Linked DNA regions of Homo sapiens: region 2 is linked to region 1. Evidence: promoter capture Hi-C in human tissues and cell types (Jung and others, 2019). All regions are on one chromosome and are shown on one strand. The core of a region is centred on a gene start or on the middle of the fragment in contact, and the rest is flanking DNA. Distances in the headings are between cores, read along the strand shown.

Region 1 (7,453 bases), core at 1,598-4,097:
AGAGCCTCAGGGAGCTTTGGGATTAAAATCAATAACAGTATTTGCTGAATACCCCCATGGGAGAAATCCATGGGGGAACTATATAAGGAATAGTGTAATGATAGCGACTATGTCTTGAGGGTCTATTGTGTGCTGCTTGTTTCGTGTGCATTTTTTTTTCCTTTTACTCCTAACAACAGTCTTTCGAGGCAGGAGTTATTAACCCAATTACACCACGTGTCTCTAGAAGGCAAGGCCTCAGTCTTCTTTGTGTACTAACATCTATGTACTCACTGAAGAAGACTTGTAAAACATACTCATAGTCCTGGACATAGGAGTTCATGGTTTTGCCAGAGCTGTGAAGGAACCTTGAGGATGTCAGCCCTAACGAGTGGGGTGAGTACAGGAAAAATGTGATGTGGCCAATGCAAGGAAGGACACTGTTTCTCTTACTACAATAAGAAAAACAACCCGACCAAATCAACCAACAAAACCAAGCAAGAGAAATCTGATGGTGAAGTGGCGAGGAAGCAGCAAAAGCTTCTTGCAGCTGGAGTTAGGGATGCGGATGAAAGGTGGATCAAGCCAACTGCAAGTGGGGGAGGCTGCTCAACCTGGGAAAGTGCTCCATCAGCTACTTCGCCCTCTCTTCCACTGCTGCAACGCTTTTTAAAGCGACAGTCACACGCTGCAGGATTCGGAAGCGGAAATGGTCTTTGCTCATTGGATGACAATCTAAATTCAGATCGAAAGAATGTGGTTGGAGACAGCTGGTGGAAATGGTCCCAGTCTTGTCTTCACTGGAAATGTCCAATGTCCACGTGCTGCTCGTTTCTCTTCTTATGAAGCGTCTCCCTGTCTCTCTGGGCCTGTCTCTGTTTCTTCCATCGCTTTTTTCCCCACTAAGTAACCATCCCGGCGCACTGTACCCAACTGGTCGAGGAACGCCCCTGCTGTACCCATCACTGCTGGCTGCCTCGGAGATTAATGCGAGCGACTCGGGTGGTTTATGAGAAGTGACACTTAATACCCAGCTTCTTGTATCTGCCGCCGAGCAGTTAACGTTAAAGCCCGCTCTGTACCACCGCGGATGTGACTGCTGTAAATACCACGGGGCAGGGCTCTCATGCTTCAGAAACACGTAAGCAAGACGCACCGAGCCAGCCCCGGACACCCAATGACCCTGGACTGCGGCAAAGGGGGGGTGGGAAAGGAAGAGGGGAGGACCACTCGCTCTTCTCTCCTTCCTCCTCGCCCGGGCCGGAGCACGCCTTCCTCCCCGGAGGGCAGGGGAAGGTCGCTCCAGGTCGCTGGCACCTCCAGCGCCCCCGAAATCTGCAAATTCATCGCTCCCTTTCGTCTTCAGGCGAAGCCCTCCCGTCCGGAGTAGGGCCAGCCCCAGTTATGCATCTCCAGCCTTTAGCTGACTACTAAGGCGGATCCGACTTCTCCCCCATAACCAGGTTTTGATTCGCTTCCCCACCGCAGGGGTTCAGTCTCTGCTTTCGACTTTGCTTCTCAGTTGCACGCCCCGCAGTGTGGAGCTGCGCTCAAGTCTCGGCAACTTTCACCATCTTGACCCGAGAGTCGGGCCGTTTCTAAGACAATGTGAACAAAGAGGAGCAGGGGGAGGGAAGGGGGGCCCCGCGGGAGGGCTGTGGGCGAGTGTGTGTGTGTGTGTGTGTGTGTGTGTGTGTGTGTGTGTGTTGGGGGGCGCCGCGCTCCGCGCCCGCCGCCACTGGGGATCCGGGCGCAGGCAGGCTGTCCCGGGCGCAGAGCGCGCCGCCTCCAGTCTCTCTGGCGGGCCCGGCCCGGCAGGGCCCCTGGCGGCCCCCGGAGGCGGGTTTCTTTGTCCCTGACTCCCGCTGGGCGCGAAGGCCGCCGGCGGCTAACAGAAACCCGAGCCCGCGCAACGGAGCTCAGGCTTCCACGTGCGGCCCCGCAGGGCAGAGCAGGAAGGAGCGGCTGCAGCCCCGGGGCGCCCCGCAAGCATCCAGTGCCCGGCCCTCCCAGCTCCGCGGCGGGCTTCGGACGGTGGAGTGAGACACCAGAACTCGCCTTTCGCTTCCCCGAGCCGATGCACGGCTTGGGATGGCGCCGCTCGTCCTAAGCAGCGTGGTTTGAGGGCGAGAAGACGCCTACTGGAGCGCTCCCCTCCACCCAGACTCCCGAAGACGCGCGCCCGAGTCGAAGTCGGGGACAGAGAAGGTTCTCTGGCGCCCCCCTGCCGACTGCTTTGCGGCCGCCGGGACCCGAGCAGCGGGGCGGGACCTAAACATAGCCCCAACCCAAAGATGCCCAGCAGAACGCTCCAAACAAAACAGAAACGGTGGCCGCATCTGCGTGTGTGTGTGTGTGTGTGTGTGTGACGGGGGAGAGGAGTTGATCTTACCTGAAACATAGTTTGCGCTTCTGTGTGTGTGGCCGAAGAATGGAAGAGAAACTGCCATGGCCATCCGAGTCCATTAAATCAACTCCCCTTCCCTCCGACTCTCTCAACTCAGTCATATTCTATAATACAACGCAAGGTTACAGAGCCCCAGTGAAAACTAGTTTCCCAGTTTCACTCTGACCCTCCATCAATGTAGCCAGCCAGCTAGATTGTAGGTTACCGGCTTCTATTCTGCAGGAGAACTTTGAGTCTCGGGAGACTCAGGGTTTCTTCCTCCCGCCTCTCGCAGTGCATCTTTCATTTGCTTTTCTTTGTAAAGCCAGGGCTCCTCGACTGCCTCCCAGGAAGTCCTGCGCTCTGGCGCGCCGCACCTCGCCTGCCGCAGAGCGGCGCGGGCAGTAAGCCGGGCGCTAGGACCGCGGGGAGCCCGGGCTGCGGCGGCGCTACCTTAAACCCAGCCCAATGCCGCTGCCTGCGCCACTCTGCGCGCCGGCGGGGGCTGCGCAGGAGGAGCGCTCCGCCCGGCTACAACGCTCCGCGAGCCGGCGCGGCAACACCTGTTCGCGGCAGCCTGGGCGGCACGCGAGCTCCCGGACGCGGCTCTCCTCGCTCGCCGCTCGCCACCCGTTCTAAGCCAATGGACATCTGCCGAGCCTCTGGAGAATCCTGGATACTAGCTTTGGACGCCTAAAGTTTCTTCTTCTTTTTGTTTTATTATTATTATCATTTTTTGGAGGGGGGACCGGGAGGGGAGATTTGTCGCCGCCACCAACGTGAGATTTTTTTTTCCCCTTGAAGGATTCATGCTGATGTCTGCAGAGTCGGTTAGAGAGTAAAAACAGCGCATGCCTTCCTGGAGTCAGGATCCGTAAATTCTGACGTAGCCCGTGCATCTTAAAAATCCCTATAATAACGCCTAGGCATTTAAGTTGCTATGGTCATTCTGATCTCAAACCAAATGGAGAAACTACGGATTTTTTTTCCTTATTACGGTCGGATGGGATGAAGACCTTCCTGCCTGCTAAGAGCTGGGGATCTATCTATAGAGATACATAGATATGTTTATCAATATGTCAGTGTGTGAGTATAAAGTGGTGGTTTCTTAGACTATCAGTGGTTTGACCTTGAACCTGTGCCAGTGAAACAGCAGATTACTTTTATTTATGCATTTAATGGATTGAAGAAAAGAACCTTTTTTTTCTCTCTCTCTCTGCAACTGCAGTAAGGGAGGGGAGTTGGATATACCTCGCCTAATATCTCCTGGGTTGACACCATCATTATTGTTTATTCTTGTGCTCCAAAAGCCGAGTCCTCTGATGGCTCCCTTAGGTGAAGTTGGGAACTATTTCGGTGTGCAGGATGCGGTACCGTTTGGGAATGTGCCCGTGTTGCCGGTGGACAGCCCGGTTTTGTTAAGTGACCACCTGGGTCAGTCCGAAGCAGGGGGGCTCCCCAGGGGACCCGCAGTCACGGACTTGGATCATTTAAAGGGGATTCTCAGGCGGAGGCAGCTATACTGCAGGACTGGATTTCACTTAGAAATCTTCCCCAATGGTACTATCCAGGGAACCAGGAAAGACCACAGCCGATTTGGTAGGTATACCATTAACCCTTTAGTGTCCATGAGATGACATGTTGAAATTATAACTACCAAGAAGGTGGTGGCCGGGTGGGGGACGTGGGAAGGGTTCTCCCCTCCTCCCCTCTTTCTCTGTATCTCTGTCTCTCTCTCTCTCTGTCTTGCCAGCTCCGAAAAAAAAATGCCTCCGGAATTGCAGATCTGCTGCTGGCACTGATGCAAGTATACACTGAAAGGCCCCCTACTTTTAATTTAAAGGGGGGCATAATTTATAAATATAATACAAGTTTCCAGTTCTTTTGCATCAGATACACGGGTTTAGGAAGTTTCTTTTGAATGGACTGATTGCACGAGTTTAAAGCTTTAATCATTAACTACTAAGAACTTAATGCAGTTTCTTGAAGGCAGTGGGTATCTTGTGCCCAAATTAAGGTTTTTTTCCTTTCCCCCTTTCCTCTAGTAAGTATACTACTTGAATTGTATATTAAGTGCATTGTTTATTCTCCCCTGTGAGGGTCTGAAAGCCCCATAGGCGAAGGTTGCTGACGGATTGTCCTGTTGGGAGGACTAAAGTCATATTTTAGGCTCCGTGAAAAGCAGGGGCAGAGGCTTGGGGGAAAATGACTTGGGAAGAGGCAGGGCGCTCAGGGGTTTTTGTCCTTCCAGCTATCAAGTGATAACCTCTGCTTTTAAATTTCCATAGTGTGCAGCCCTGTGTAGGTCTCCTGCGTGGCTCTCTGGTGTGAGTGTGTGCGCGCGTGCAAACGCTGCGAGCGAATTTTAAAGGGCATTCCGAGGATTTCATTTTTCAGCGGAGGGTATTTGTGACTCAGCACTGAGGGCTGCAGACTCGAGGGCTGGTGGCTCTGCCCACTTTATGCTTGCACACACGTGCTTGCCGGGGCACCCTGAGCCCAACGGCACGAAGTCAACTAACACAGTCCCAATTGGGTGGACTCTTGAGTTTTTTCCTTACTTAAAAAAAAAAAAATAAGCGCCAGTTTGGGCAACTAGACTGTTGGAAGGAGTTAACTTCTGAGTGAACCCACCTGACAACACTTAAACTAGGTCGTAAAAAACAAAGTCCTCTGGTGATTTTTCTTCCTCATGCTTTAGTGCCAGATGTTGAACACAATCTAAACTGTATGTTTAGCTTCGTGCGGCTGCGGATGATGCCAGAAGGTGAGGAGGACTTAGGCCTGGGCTGGGGATGGTCCCAGATCCACGAGGCCCAGGATTTGCTCCTCATGCTCACCCCTGAGCCTAAGCCCACAGCTGAGCCTAGTAGTGTGAAATTGCTCCGGCCGTCTCCACTCGCTGCTTAAAAAAAAGTTATAGCTCTTTGCTTTGCAATTATTCAGTTGAAATATAACTATCCCCTCCCCACCCCAGAAGTAAAGGTAGATTCTGGTTGTTGCAAAGAGAAGACTAAACTTTACTAAAAGTGCCGTTTCCATCTGGCCTCTTTAAGGGCTGCCACCCTGCCTAGCGTTCGATACCAGAACAACAGGCAGTGGGCGGCCCTGGGTGGGCGAGCGAGCGTGTCCGGGGCCGCGGCGGCCACCCGCAGGGTGTCGGGGCCGCGCCGACCGAAGCGAGCGGCGTGGGCGGCCGGCCTAGGTGTGCCAGGCGGCCGGAGCTCCAGCCCTCCCGCGCTCGCGGTCGGCAGGTGCCCGCTCGGCCGCCCGGGCCCCGCGGCGCACTTAGCGGCTGCCCGGCCGGCTCCGCGCGGTCCTAAACGCGCTCGCGTTCCGGCTCCCTTTCCGCCTGGCTCGGGTGCGCCCTTCAGTGCTGCGGGGACCACGGGGGCCGGGGGGCGGCAGGCAGGGGCTGACACACTTCTGGCCGCGTTTAGGGAATCCGGTTTTTCATTTTGGCCCAAGTTGAGCCCCTTCGCTTTCTCTTTGTGTGTGAGAGTGGGTCTGGCGGGGCTGACAGCCGCCGCCCTGGGCTGCACGGTGGTTTGCGGTGTGGGAACGGCTGGAGGCGCGCGCAGCGGCAGGAGAGTTGGTGGCGGGGACAGAGGACGGGCTGGAGGTCGGACCCCTGAGCTCCCCTGTCCCATTCCGTGTCCTTCTTCTGAAGCACGCAGCCGGGTTTTGGAGACTCGAAGGGCTCCGTGGTGCCCGGGAGGTGGGTCGGGGGCCCCTGGCCGGAGCCGCAGGGAAAGGAGTGGGGGTGGGGGGGACAAAGGGCCGCGGAGGCGGGCGGAGGGGGCGGCGTGCTATTGTTAACCGCTTTCCGAGAGCAGAGCTCGCGAGCTCGCCGATCGCGATCTGGCTTTCCCGCGCCCCCGCCTCCGCTCCGGCTTCACAACCGGGGGAGCCCGGGGTGTGCGCGGGAGCGCGGCGGGGGCGCACGGCTGCAGGGGCGCCGCGGCGGGCCCGAGCCGGTTTTATTGTGTGGATCAGCCGAGCCTGTCTTTGAGAGACCCTATTAGAACTCCGGTGCAGCACGACTGGGCCCTGGTGTGCAGAGATTATGGGATATTCTAGTTGGCGCTTCTTCACGCACCCCTTCCCTCCATGAGCATTTTTTTTTTTTGATGCAGTCACCTTTAGGATAGGACGTTTGCCACATGCAGTCGAGTCATTAGAAATCCCGTAACTCTGCCACTGGAGAGAGCGCGGATGCAAGGGCGGGGGCCACGCGGGAGGGGAGGGCAGGAGAGGCGCATTCTAGGGTGAGCGGATGAGGACAGCGGCGGGCTACAGTGGCTCAATAGAAACCGTTAAACAAAAAGCTAGACCCCTCACCCCTAGAGGTCAGAGAAAGGTGTTGTCAGGGAAGTGGCATCTCCACTCCTTAGACGCTCTCGGTACAGTGTTGCGGGGGATGTGGGGGCTGGGGGGGATGTGGGGGCTGGGGGGAGGGGCTAGGGGTAGTGTTGGATGGGAGGGGAGCGGAAGCCCCGGCCCAGGTTGGGGACTGGGGGCGCCGAGCCGCTAGCTAGCCCGTCGGCCTGGCGTCGGCCGAGGGGGAAGGGCGCTCTGGCGCTCCGCTGTGCCACTCACTCTGGCTGGGATGGAGTTGAGTGGGTGGCTGTGCGCAGTGGGGGTGGGGAAGCAGGGTGAGGCAGGAGGGTTATTTAAGTCTTTCATCCGGTTGCAGTGAGAAGCGGGCCCCCGGGGTGACAGCAGTGCCGCGGTCTCCCGCTGCTGCCGCTGCGGCAGGTCCCAATATTAGCAACCTCCGCAGAGCGGTGGTGCGTGTGCCGGGAGCCTCCTACCCTCGCCTTCCCAGCCCCGCCCGGAACGAGGCCGCGGCGGCGCTAGGACACCGCGGCTCGCGCGGGGAGGGCGGAGGGAGGGCACAGGCGCCGGGAGGGGGCGAGGGGGCTGCGGTGCCCCGGCTCTGGCACACCTGGCGCTCCCGCGCGCCGCCGCGGCCTCACCTTCGGCCCTCCTCCTCCTCCGGCAGCAGCCTCTCCTCCGCAGCCCGGCTCCCCTCTGGGGAGTTCGTCCTCACACTCAGTTTCTCTAGAAAAGAGTAACTGTAGGTGG
Region 2 (7,453 bases), core at 3,137-5,636, 700 kb after region 1:
CAAAAATGCCAAAAGCAATTGCAACAAAAGCAAAACTTGACACATGGGATCTAACTAAACTAAAGCACTTCTGCACAGCAAAAGAAACTATCAACAGAGTAAACAGACATCCTACAGAACAGGAGAGAATTTTTGAAAACTATGCATATGACAAAGTTCTAATATTCAGCATCTGTAAGGAACTTGAACAATTTTAAAAGAAAATACAAATAACCCCATTAAAAAGTTGGGAAAAGACATGAATGGACACTTTTCAAAAGAAGACGTATATGTGGCCAACAGGCAGCTGAACAAAAGCTCAACATTACTTATCATTAGAGAAATGCAAATCAAAATTACAATGAGATACCATCTCACACCAGTCAGAATGGCTATTACTAAAAAGTCAAAAAAATAACAGAAGCTGGTGAGGTTTTGGAGAAATTTACACTCCCACACTTGGGCATGTAAATTAGTTCAACCATTGTGGGAAACACTGTGGCAATTCCTCAAAGACCTAAAGACAGAAATACCATTTGAACCAGTCATCTCATTACTGGGTATGTACCCAAAGGAATATAAATTGTTTTGTCACAAAGACACATGCACATGTATGTTCACTGCAGTACTGTTCACAATAGCAAAGACATGGAATCAAGCTAAATGCCCATCAGTAGTAGACTGGATAAAGAAAATGTGGTACATATACACCATGGAATACTATGCAGCCATAAAAAAGAACAAGATCATGTCCTTTGCAGGAACATGAGTGGAGCTGGAGGCCATTTTCCCTAGTAAACTAATGCAAGAACAGAAAACCAAATACCACATGCTCTCATTTATAAGCAGGAGCTAAAAGATGAGAACACATGGATACACAGAAGGGAACAACAGACACTGGAGCCTACTGGACTGTGGAGGGGTGGGAGGAGGAAGAGGATCAGAAAAAATAACTAACAGGTACTAGGCCTAATACCTGGGTGATGAAATAATCTGTACAAAAATCTCCGTGACACAAATTTACCTGTATCACAAACCTACACATGTACCTCTGAATTTAAAAGTTAAAAAAAAAAATAGTGTTTCTATATGCTAATACTGTACTATTTGAAAAAGAAATAAAGAAAACAATCCAATTTACAATAGCTACAAAAGACACCTAGGAATAAATTCAACAAAGGAGGTAAAAAATCCCTATAATGAAAACTATTAAAATATTGATAAAAGAAATTGTGTAGACCCACACAAATATGGAAAGACATCCTGTGTTCATGAATTAGAAGAATAAATATTGTTAAAATTACCGTACTACCCCCCACAATCTGTAGATTCAATACAATCCTGCCAAAATACCAATGACATTCTTTACAGGTATAGAAAAAAATCCTAAAATTTGTGCGGAACCACAGAAGGCCCCAAATAGCCAAAAACAACCCACCTCCAAAAAAAAAAAACTGGAGGAATCACATTACTTAACTTTAAATTATACTACAAAGCTATAGTAACTAAAACAGTATGATACTTTCATAAAGACTGACAGATAAACCAATGGAACAGAATAGAGAACCCATAAATAAATCTGTGTACAATAAGTCCTCACTTAACATTGATAATTCATTCTTGGAAACTGTGACTGTAAGAAAAATGATGTGTAAGAAAATCATTTTTTTCTCATCAATGTTATAACAAAATGACATTGAATCAAACAACATTATCCAAGGACCTGCAGTATGTTGTTTCACTTAAAGTCACAGTTTTTGAGACCCCATTGACAACATTGTGAGGACTTACTGTATTTACAGCTAACTGATTTTTGATAAAGATGCCCAGAACATAAACTGGGAAGAAGACAAACCTCTTCAATAAGTAGCACTAGGAAAATTGATATTCCTATGCAGAAGAATGAAACTAAATTCATATCTCTAGCCATGTACAAAAATCAACTCAAAATGGGTTAAAGACTTAAATGTAAGTCTAAAACTATTAAACAACTAGAAGAATACATATGAGAAACACTTCAGGACATTATTCTGGGCAAAGATTTTATGAATAAGACCTCAGAAGCTTAGGCAACCAAAGCAAAAATACACAAATGGGATTACACCAAACTAAAAAGCTTCTGTATAGCAATGCAAAAGAAAGAAAAAAAATCAACAGAGTAAAGAGACACCTCACAAAAGGGAGAAAATATTTTCAAACTATTTATCTGACAAGCGATTAATACTGAGAATACACAAGGACCTCAAGCAACTCAACAAAAGTGAAAAAAAAAGAAATAATCTAGTCAAAAGATGTGCAGATGCTCTGAATAGACAGTTTTCAAAAGAAGACACAATGGCCGACAAATATATTAAAAAATGCTGAACATCACTGACCACCAAGAAAATGCAAATCAAAACCACAGTGAGATATCATGTCACCCTAGTAAGAAGGGCTATTATCAAAATGATAAAAAATAACAAATGCTGGCAATGATGCAAAGAAAAAGGAACTCTTATACAGTGTTGGTGGAGACATAAATTAGTACAACCGTTGTGGAAAACAGTATGGTGTTTCCTCAAAAAATCAAAAGTAGAACTATCATATGATTCAGCAATCCCACTACTGGATACAAATCCACAGAAAAGGAAATCAGTATGTCAAAGAAATATTTGTAGTCCTATGTTTATTGCAGCACTATTCACAATAACTAAGATATGTAATCAGCCTATTCTGTCAATGGATGAATAAAGAAAATGTGGTATATATACACAATGGAATACTTTTCAGCTATTAAAAAATGAAATCCTGTCATTTGTGGCAACATGAGTAAGCCTACAGGATGTTATGTTAAGTGAAATAAATCAGACACAGAAAGATAAATACCACATGTTCTCAGTCATATGTGGAACCTAATAAAATTTGATCACAGAAGTAGAAAGTAGAATACTAGATACCAGAGGTGGGAGAGGGTAGGGGGAGGAAAAGATGGAAATAGATTGGTTGTGTAGCACTGTAGGGTAACTACAGTTACAATAATTTATTGTATATGTTCAAATAGCTGGAAGAGAAGATTTCGAATGGTTTTTAACACAAAGAAATGATAAATGTTTGAGGTGATGGATGTGGTAATTACCCTGATTTCATCATTTCATATTGTATTGAAATATTACACCGTATCCCATAAATATTACATTTATGTAATATGTTAGATAAAAAAAAATCAGGTAAGAGAACTTCTCCTTCAATCGCTAGTCTGTGACTTTTCTTTTCCTTCCTAAGGTAATATCGTTAATAATATTGTCACATTGTCGCAATATCTACTTCGTTGTCTTATATAATCGTACATCACATGTAAGATCTATATATATGTAGGGCATATATTATTATGTATTTTATATAATAATTAAGCTTACAACTCCATTTAAGGGTAAGATTACTCTCTCTCATTCTTTAGGGGAAACTGCCTTGAGGCAGGAGTATTGGTTTTGCCCGTCTTTCTTTCTCATTTCCTTCTCTCCTGCCTGGCTGCTGTTTGCAGCTCTTCCAGGGGATGGGGGGCAGAAGTCCATAGGGAGCATCTCTGCCTTGTCTTGGCTTTATCTAGAACTGTTGTGTCTGGTTTTGTGCCCTCAGAGCCAGCAGAGTTTGAAGGAGGTCATGGACTCCCTCATGTGTTCTTTGAGGACCTCTGATCTCTGGTATGCAATCTCCTGATTTCAGTGAGTGGTTCTTCTGGCTGGACTCATTTACGTGAAGATCCTGGGAATCTTGAAGTCCACCTCCAGCTTCTGTTGAGATTACATCTCTTTTCCAGATGTGTTTTGGAAGGGACTTAAGACAGTCCACAAGGAAATGTGTTCTTTGTCCCAGCCTAACCAAGGGCAGCCGAGTCCAGGCTCTGCTCTGTTGCCTACACCTGGGTTCGCCTAGTTCTTTGTATCTGGAGTTTCCATTCAGGGCCAGGTGGGGATCACCCTGTCTCATAGCTGTAAGGATCACAGAAAATCTTCCTGCAAGGTCCAGCTGAAGCTGTTTTCTCTCGATTTAAGTTGCAGGAGGAAAATACCTTTTTTCTAATAAATCCTCTCAAAAAATCTTCCTCTTGGATTTATAAGACTTGTACTTTGGCAAGTTTGTGAACTGGTCTGGAATTTTATATATTTGTACCTTAGTTTCTCAGAAACGTCAAGTAACTATGTCATTGCATATTATATTGTCTGTGTGTGTGTGTGTGTGTGTGTGTAATCAAAATTGCAAGTGTCTAAATAAAACAAATTATCTTTTCATGTAATGCATTATTTAAAGCAGAAAATAACTAATGTAGAATGAATCCTATTGAGAAAATAATATCAACTTCTTATCTAGTTACTGTCTGATAAATACTTAAAAGACCACATTCTTCTTCTAGTTAGTAAATGAAAAATCACTGGTGAGGTCTCACAATAGAAACAGTATGAGATAAACCACTGTTAAAATTCCAGCTTACTTCAAATATTATAGCCAAAGCCAAAAGAAGAATGAGCTCTTGTTAACCTCAGTGCAGTTTTATCTTGAAGGTATTATATTTCATCCTTCTCATTTTTATTCACAAAAATGTCAAGAAAACATCTATAAAGTAGATGAAAATATAAAAATATGCTGCCTCCCCTATCTCCATAGATTTCTTCATGAATCCCATCTTATTCTCAATACAGCTTTTCATGTTAGAGTTAGGTTCATTCAAATGTTTGAGTAGCAGAAGCTGTTCTAACATCAGGTGAAATCCAGATCTCTTTATAAGAAATAATGGAGAAAAAAATGTTTTTAGAAAGACCAAAGAACCAGAAAAAAGGGCGTAGAATCAGCATGTCAAAAAGAGACCGTGAATAGTGATGAGAGATGAAAGACATGTCTAAAAAATATGTAATGAATAACTCCCTTTGACTGATAATGTAGATATTATTAGTGAAGGCAACATTCAAGGAAAGAGAAAAAGACGGTCCTGATTCACATGTTTAAGCTAATTGGAGTAAGTCCGTGAAGTGATTTCCAAAGGTCTGCTGCTGTGTGTACAAACCTGTAGGGTCTTTAAAGGAGCTGGAGCTCAGAGCTTTGTGCATGATGTTTGCGTTTTGTTTTGTTTTGATTTGTTTTGTTTCATTTCTTTTATTCATTTTGAGATGGTGAAGGCAGCATATTAGGCTGGAAAGAGTGACTTTCAAGAACTCTGGAGAGAAATCATACTATTATCATGAAAACTCTACTTGCCCCCTGCAAATCATCTGATAGGTGCCAAACAAAATAAAACAGGAGTATTCAGTAAAATTTACTCCTTATCACCATTTTTCCCTTTGCAAGGGCTACAGGAGAGCTTTCCTCCTGGCCCTCTGAAGGTTTGCTGAAAAATAAATTCACAAAAGGCAGATTAATAGAAGAAAAGGCATACAAATTTATTTAACATGTGTACCCAGGAGCCCTCAGAATGAAGACCCAAAGACACAGGGGAAATGGTCTATTTTTTGCTTTGGTTCAACCAAGTATGGACAGCCATGTAGAAATATGATTGGACAAAAAGTGTGTGATCTAATGCTAATAGTCTGCGTGGGGGAACCCAGCAAGGCGTGTCCATCTAGATTCCTCTTGGCTTCTCTGAGCAGCATTCCTTCCCTCTGGGTATGGGGCAGGAACCTTTCCAGAATGGGAGTCTTATAACCTATCATCAAACAAGGTAGGTCAGAGAATTTCTTTCTGGCCATTTTTACATGGATAGGGCTAAGGGAAGGTTAGATTAATATTGTTAGTTTTATAGCTGTCTTTGGAGAAAAGGAGTTCAGGTTTCTATGACCTGCCTTGGAGAAGAGTGTTTCTCATTTCTATGGCTAGCCTTGGGGAAGAATGGGATGGAGAGAAAGGAGGGCAGGAAGAGGTCAGAGAAAAACCTTTTGCTTCTGAAGGTATTGCAGAGGCCTTCATTTTGGGATATTGTTTTCTGAGCCCCAACACTCTGAATGGTAGACCTAAGAAGGACAAAAACAAGTTCTAGGTCAGAAAATACGTCCTTGCTATTGTATTTGTTGGAATCCAAAATATGCCTCTCCAAAATATACTTTTTTGGTATATTTCAAGTTGTTTATTCAGAGAAGCTGAATAGATTTGAAAAGCTATTGCTTTGTTAAAAGAAAAAATGTATGTTTATCTACATTAGTAAAGCAAACAGGAGATACAAACAGAGGCTTTCTCTGAGGTCACCTTATCCAGATCTAGGAAAGATGAACTCACAGAAAAAGGAGACTTAAGTCTGACATTTTGAAGTTCTGACAGAGAAACTGTTAACCACAAGCTGCCTTCTATTCACTCTGAGGACTGCTACCTGTGAGACTTCATCTGCATAACAAGACAGCCTTTGCTCTCCATGTGTTTCCTCCCCCCACCCTCCCACAACCCATCCCCAGGCTCCCCAGGAGCCCTAAGTCCTTATTCTACTCTGTATGGTATACAACTTAGTCATCTGGCCCTTCTTTGAGTCTCATATTTTGTGTAGTTACTCTACACATGCATATGTAATAAACTTGTATACCTTTTCTCCTGTTACTCTGTCTATTGTTGGTTGATTTTATGGAGTCAATTTATTAAACATTCAAATGGGTGGAAGGAAATTCCCTTTCCCCCTACGTATCCATGAAAGCTTTCCCAGAATGCATAGTTGTGTCCTGCCAGATTGGTGGTCAGAACAGGTTTGTATATCTTATGTGTGTTTTCCACAAGGAAGAGTGCCTTTTAAGTCCAAATAGCATTGCTCTGAAAATTAGGAAAACTGTTTGCTTTTTAAACACTCTACACAAAGCTTCCTGGGGCATTTCATCAGAGCAGCCTAGAACTTCTCATTTTAACCAGCTGAATACTTTCTTGCTTGGCAAAGCTTTTTGACACCTTTTGGGTTTAAATCCAGATTTTTTTTTTACACCTGTACTGTAAATAAGAGCACTTTTTTTGATGATTTAATAGCCAGTGGCTGACAATATATAGCCTAAGATAGCTATTATATTAAATAGACAGGTATATAACGTCTCTTCTCTTCATTCTTTGATACGATCTGTTTGTGATCTTTGCATTTTTTGTTTGTTTGTTTTGACCAGGATTCACTGGATACAAGACAGTTTTAATTCCAGAAAATATTTTTGTACTTCTCTTTAAATATGTGACTTGGAAGCAGGTTTTTGGGTATGAGCATATGTAGCTGTTGAAGATGACTATCAAAATTGATGCCACACAAAGCACCTTGTAAACAAAAGATGCTGGCACTTGGTAGGAAAATTAGGAAGGAAAATTAATAATACAGAAAATAATAGTCACATTTTCACTTATGCTTGCATAAGTTCTACCATTTAGGAGTTCTCAAAAAGAAATTAAAAAGAAGAGAAACAGGGTAAAAAAAACGTAATTTCTCCAGGGAATGTCTTTGGTCTGGCTTTCACATACACACAAACATTCTCATCTCAAAAGCAGTCATCAG

Evidence for each region. The method cuts DNA at HindIII sites, captures the fragments that hold promoters and counts their contacts. A contact is called where the count stands out against the background at its distance.
Region 2: a contact is called between a fragment that was not itself captured here and the fragment with the promoter of FGF9 in region 1, in 3 of the 25 tissues and cell types used here (H1 embryonic stem cells, lymphoblastoid cells and mesendoderm cells).

What each region holds. Positions count from the first base shown.
Region 1 is chr13:21,668,226-21,675,678 of GRCh38, forward strand. FGF9 (fibroblast growth factor 9) reads left to right here and starts at 2,848. Exons shown (of 3, transcript NM_002010.3): 1 at 2,848-3,964. The coding sequence starts at 3,688. RefSeq lists silencers at 1,666-1,925, 2,706-2,755, 2,776-2,835, 5,442-5,661, 5,682-5,811 and 1 more. The HindIII fragment of the contact is 7,376 bases long and covers 1-5,950 here.
Region 2 is chr13:22,363,717-22,371,169 of GRCh38, forward strand. No RefSeq gene overlaps it. Among named protein-coding and RNA genes, the nearest start is that of LINC00540, 160 kb to the left of the region's middle. RefSeq lists an enhancer at 5,993-6,614. The HindIII fragment of the contact is 4,635 bases long and covers 2,070-6,704 here.